Regions from separate parts of the Homo sapiens genome. Here region 1 is linked to region 2. The links are contacts of gene promoters, found by promoter capture Hi-C in blood cells and fetal thymus (Javierre and others, 2016). All regions are on one chromosome and are shown on one strand. The core of a region is centred on a gene start or on the middle of the fragment in contact, and the rest is flanking DNA. Distances in the headings are between cores, read along the strand shown.

The links. Contacts are between HindIII fragments. The CHiCAGO score rates a contact against its expected background, and 5 or more counts as called.
Region 1: a fragment that was not itself captured here is called in contact with the fragment with the promoter of CLUL1 in region 2 in 1 of 17 cell types (total CD4 T cells); the score reaches 6.2 in total CD4 T cells.

What each region holds. Positions count from the first base shown.
Region 1 is chr18:2,546,991-2,550,204 of GRCh38, forward strand. METTL4 (methyltransferase 4, N6-adenosine) reads right to left here. Exons shown (of 9, transcript NM_022840.5): 6 at 365-539. Among named protein-coding and RNA genes, the nearest start is that of METTL4, 23 kb to the right of the region's middle. The HindIII fragment of the contact is 1,217 bases long and covers 1,006-2,222 here.
Region 2 is chr18:595,468-598,394 of GRCh38, forward strand. CLUL1 (clusterin like 1) reads left to right here and starts at 1,521. Exons shown (of 10, transcript NM_001393344.1): 1 at 1,521-1,662. RefSeq lists silencers at 1,270-1,399, 1,460-1,579 and an enhancer at 2,002-2,501. The HindIII fragment of the contact is 7,229 bases long and covers 1-2,927 here.

The DNA of each region.
Region 1 (3,214 bases), core at 364-2,863, 2.0 Mb after region 2:
TATATAAAGGGAAGAAGATGAAGAGTAAGACTATTTCTATGTTTGGTGATACACAATTCCCCAAAGTTTTTGTTTGTTGTTTTTTAAACTACAGACAAAATCAGAGCTTTTAAAAATTTTATCCTGATATCTTCCAGACTGACTTCCCAAAGCCAGCAGTTTGAGGCCCCATTACAAAAAGACATACAAAAAAAATATAGCCTTGAGAATAAAAATATAAAAGTGGTAAGCAGCAAAGCAAAAGTCTGAATTAGCCCATGTTGAAGGAGTACAGCAGTGACATGTTGAGCATTACAAAGTAGATGCTACCTTTATGTGACTTCTATCAAGCTGTATTAACAAATAAGCTAACTTCTGAACTTACTTTTACCCAGTGCCACTCAGCAACTACCTCCACAGACCAAGAGGGATAAAGTTCTTCCTTTATAAAACGTAGGTGCTTCTGTCTATTGGTCACCCAAGTAACAAGAAGACAGTTTGGAGCAGCCAATTTAGGGATAGGTATTTGCTGTATTTGCAGGGGTGACAAATAACTGTACCTAAAAATAAACGGAAAAAAGGATGAGCAAAATTCACTGCAAAAGAAGAAAACTAAGCAGGGATAAGACATGCATAACACAGACTCCACAAATGCAAAGCTCTTACTGCTATTTATTTGTGTAGCAAAATATAAAGCCACAGTGACACCCAGTGGACATATTATTACACACAAGACAAAAATCACCTTTTTTTTAACTAGTTTAAAATCGTCAGGCTGTATTTTTTTTTAGTCACTTCTAAATGCATTACATTTCAGTAATTTTACTATTAACAATATTTTTTTCTCCAATTCAAAATTAAGCAAATATTGTTGTTTAGATCCCATACTCTACGTTACACAGGAGCCCTGTCACAGTGAGTCTTGAAACGAGTCTCTCAATAACCTAAGTCAAACCATACAAGCCTTACCTGGCACCAAATCAGTGTTGCAAAATTGGTAATGCTAAAGCCAATCTATTCCAATGAAGCTTCTCCTAGCCCTAGAATCCTCAAACCCTGCACAAAATGCTGACTCCTTCACAGGGAGTCATCTCACCTATCCTCATCTCCACCCCACTGCATTTGCAACCCCTAATCTATCATCTTGCTTTTTGCCTTCTCAGTCAATTCCACTGGGTTCTCTAAAGCCCTCATATTTTCATTTTGTAAAACAAAATCTATAATCTTGTACCTCCTGGCCATAGAGTATAATGGCTAGTTTGTCCTGCAAAAATACTACTTGCTCTACAATACTCAATCAAATGAATATGGCCCCTTCTCCAACATTCAGTGGAAGGGGAGAAGTCATTATTCTCCTGGCTCCCCCATTGCTGCTTCTAGGCTATAACTCATCCACCTTTGCAAAAAAAAACCCTGTTCTCTTTGAGAGGTATGCTATCCAGCTATGTTAACCTCTACTGTTCCTCACTGAATCCATTTCATCCTCAACATATTCAATAAGGACTTAAGCTCTGAGATCCCACTACCTCACCAACACAAAACTGGCCACTATTCTGAACAATTTCAAAGCACAATCCATATAATGTATATACTTCAACTATTCTTCACCTAAACAAATACAACTGCCTTCATCCCACTTCCATAATCCACTCCAATGCCATAACCTGGACCCTGTCATCACTCACACTTGCTCCTTCTCTGAAACCATAAACATCAATCTCTGGCAATAACATGCTATGCCTCACCTACTCTTTGAGCTTATCTAGCAGCTTATTCCTGATTACACTTGCTCTTCTTCCCCGTGGACCGCCAATCGTTTCATTGTCTTCTCACTAGCACTCTCAGTTCCCATCCTCCCTTTACCCTTCAACCTCACAGTTCCTGCAAACCTCCCATCTTAAATCAGTATCACAATTTTATTCCACTTGTTTGTATAGGGAAAATCAGATGAAGAAAATGCGGAAGAACTGGGTATTAAAAGTTTATAAAATCCATTATCAGGATCTTAAAGTACTCATCAATTCTTTTACTCATCCTTGGTCAAGTACCACAAACCCTCACCACTCTTCAGATCCCTTGACCAAACTCTCTCTTAGCAGGTAAAGTTAACTCATACATCAGTAAAACTAAAGGCCGCCAACCTCCCTCAACTACCCAACCCTAACCCCTCTCCTTTATATACCTTTACTTATCTATTTCCATACATTTCCTCTTAAAGGAAATGGCATGATTTCACCTATTAAAGCTTATCCCTCCGGTTGTATTCTCTTAGTCCCATATGCTAGTATCTTGTAATACCAATTATCCCCTCCTTCTCTATTTTCAACTTCTCTAGTAGTTCTTTACCATCAACCTACAAATATGATTATCCTATCTCATTTGAAAAGAAGATGAGAAAAGGAGGAGAGAGGGAGGAGAGAGTAAGAAGAGGAGAGGAAAAGGTGTGGAGGGGAGGAGAGGAGAAAGAAGAGGACAGAGAATACAGAAGAGAAATTCCCTCAATTCCATCACCTTCTATCTACAACTAAGCTAAGGACTTGTATGCAAATCCTACTTTATCTCCTTTATTTTATTCCTTAGTTGACTCCAATGAGACTTTTACCACTATGCCTACTCTGAAAAAAGTAAATGACTTCCTAATGGCCAAATGCAACAAACATTGGAATCCAGCTCTAGCATGTGACAACTGTATGTCAGGGACAATCAATAAGTATTTCTTAAAACAAATAGGGCTGGGTGTGGTGGCTTATGTCTGTAATCCCAACACTTTGGGAGGCCGAGGCAAGTGTATCACCTGAGGACAGAAGTTTGAGACTAGCCTGGCCAACATAGTGAAACCCCATCTCTACTAAAAAAAAAAAAAAAAAAAAAAAAATTAGCCGGGTGTGGTGGCAGACACCTGTAATCCCAGCTACTCAGGAGGCTAAGGCAGAAGAATCACCTGAACCCAGGAGGTGAAGGTTTCAATGAGCCGAAATCATACCATTGCACTCCAGCCTGGGCGACAACAGCGAAACTCTGTCTCAAAAAAAATAAAATAAAATAAAAATAAATAAATAAATAAGCAAAAGAATTCAGATCTCAAGCACCCAAGTTTCCTGCCATCGAAACAAGTGCTCTTCCCGCAGACTAGTATTTCTCATAATCGAAGTGATGAAGGAACTAATTTTGCTACAGTATGAAGAATGTCAGGTCAAAAATTTGAAAGTACATGGTTTCAGTAACTGCAGATTCC
Region 2 (2,927 bases), core at 271-2,770:
CTTTGAATGTTTTGTAAACTGGCTTTGAAGGTACTTCTTTAAAAAAGAAGCACAAGAAAGACGGTGACTGGCAACAGCCTCACTGGAATACGTCTCTAATCATCAAGGCAACCCACACTCATTTGGATGTGTGCATCTGGTGATGTTATTATTTTTAAAGTTATGTGCCACAAAGATGCATTCTTTGCTATACAAAAGAGCTGTTGTTAAATTTATAAAGATATAAAAAGGGGAAAGGGGAAGGCACCAAATGGAAGATTCTTAGGCATTAAGTGCTCAGACAGCATAGATCTTCATTAGATGACGTCAGGGAGAAGAGACACAGACTTTGCCATCTCAGGTAGAAGTATCAAAGTCATCAGCCTCCTAGTAAGACAGACCTGGGTTTGAAGCTCTGCACAGCCATTTCCTAGCTGGTCTGGGGAAAAATTACTTCTTGAAGCCTCAGTGTCTTTATTTGTAAAGTAAGTGGAATTATATTACCTTGTCAGGATGTTGTCAGAATTAGAAATAATTTAAAGAGGTCCAGCACGAGCAGGTCAATCAAGGGAAGATGTTAAAAATAACAACAGGTGAAATGTACTCCCAAAAGATAAAGTGGATACATAGATGAATCTTCCTCACACACAGAGTATAATAACCTCAGAAAAATATTGCCTAGAGTAAACATGCCTCCCAAGCCAACGTTCATCATCCAGGAATACGGAGAGGATGTTTGGGATATGGGGGGCATGAAATTTTACAATTGTAGGGCCCTTTAACAAGGGTAGACTTGCAAGTTGCACTGCCTTTCCTGCCCTCTCTGGCTACCTGTTCCAGCATCCAGAGTTTGTGAACCTGGGGCCCAAGGACAGCACCTGGCATGGGCAGGCCCACTTGGCGACTCTCTCAGGGCTGCTGCAGCTGTGTCAGTGTCCCCACAGGGAGGCTGACATCCAGCCATGACCATCGCATTAAGCCCAGCAGTCGGGCAGGGGAGCAACTGCTCAGAGGCACCTTTGACCCACTACTTTTTTCCCCTCCTGCTTTATCTGCCCAGAGCGAGGCTCTCTTTCTAATGTGTACAAGGCGTTCTACCTATGACTCGTGGTCCTGCCATAGAAATGCTTTTTTTTTTTTAACTGAATTAAGTTGCCAAGTTTGAAAAATCAGGAATTTCACATAAGCATCCCTATTTCTGTCTTCTTTTGAAAAACTGAATGTTCTTTCCACAGTGAGCCCACATTCCTTCCTGACGACCATCACCGTTCAGCTGGAGTAGAGAGGGCTCTGCTCGCTTCAGATCCGGACGCGCAGGTCCTCTGCAGGCCCCGCCCACCCGGCGTCACCTGCAGGTCCCGCCCACCCGGCGTCTGCAGGCCCCGCCCACCCGGCGTCACCTGCAGGCCCCGCCCACCCGGCGTCTGCAGGCCCCGCCCACCCGGCGTCACCTGCAGGCCCCGCCCACCCGGCGTCTGCAGGCCCCGCCCACCCGGCGTCACCTGCAGGCCCCGCCCACCCGGCGTCTGCAGGCCCCGCCCACCCTGCGTCACCTGCAGGCCCGGGCCGCGGGGTTGGTTTCCACCCTGGAGGTTGCTGACACCCTGTGCCCTCGGCTGACTTCCAGCCGGTGGCACAGACGCCTCCAGGGGGCAGCACTCAAGCGCATCTTAGGAATGACAGGTGAGAACATCCTCCGGGCCCCAGATTTCTCTCCTCGCCGCTCTTGCCCATTTCTCCGGAGAGCCAGAGAAAGCCGCTCCCAAGTCCAAGGCCGAGCTCCGCAGACGCCCGGCCCCTCCGGCGCGGACAGAACAAAGCCACTGTTCTTGCCGGGGAAGGTAGAAATACTGTGGGCTGCTTCAGAGGCTGCCAGCAAAACTCAGGCAATCTCCTGGGCTGTTCCAATACGTTTATTCTCTTTTTCAAAACAGGAGGAGGAGGTAGAGGCGGGGAGACACACCATCCCTGCAAAACTACTGGCAAAAACTAAGCGGAGCCGGGTGTGGTGGCTCACGCCTGTAATCTCAACACTTTGGGAGGCCGAGGGGGGCCGATCACTTGAGGTCAGGAGTTGGAGGCCAGCCTGGCCGGCATGGTGAAACACAAAAATTAGTCGATTGTGGTGGTGCATGCTTGTAATCCCATCTACTTGGGAGGCTGAGGCAGGAGAATCGCTTGAACCCGGGAGGCGGAGGTTGCAGTGAGCCGAGATTGCGCCACTGCACTCCAGCCTGGACAACACAGTGAGATTCTGTCTCAAAATAAATAAATAAATAAACCCAAGCAGAAAAAGAATCACTCTGAAAACGATCACATCTAACTATCAATGCTCATACAGTTTATGGAATTATCAGCCCAACTTGATAAAATCAGTATTTGAGGAAACTGTGGATAAGCCCCCTGATTTCAATCCCCATTGTGCCAGGTCCTGGTTAACTGAGGTTAACGAAGTAAAGAGCTGCAGACACTATTAACTGCTACCTTAAACCGATTACTCTAGCTTAGCCTACTTTCCACGTACAGATTTTACCAGTGGACAACATGATGCTTTATCTTGTTTTTCTCTCCCTGGGACTTTTCTCCAGACATTGAAAACAGAAATACTAATAAGGCCACTTTTACCTGCCTGATGCAAGAACAGAATTTTCAAACTCAACATTAATGCAACTCCTCAGTCCCTGACAATGGCGGGTGGAAAAGTTTCTAAAAATATGCAGCAGCACAATTATCGGGAAGAGATGAGATACTGTTACCTAATAAAAATGCCATAAATAGAGAATGATGAACTACCATGGGAAATGAATGCATAGAAGAGGACATGCTGGAATGTGGGACAGTAAAAATCACTTAAACTTTGCGTGACCTTGAAGAAAGTCACGATGATCTGTTTTTCCAGGTCCCTCAAACAGTGAGATGTGGCTGTTTCCCAAGTCTTCCTCTCCAGT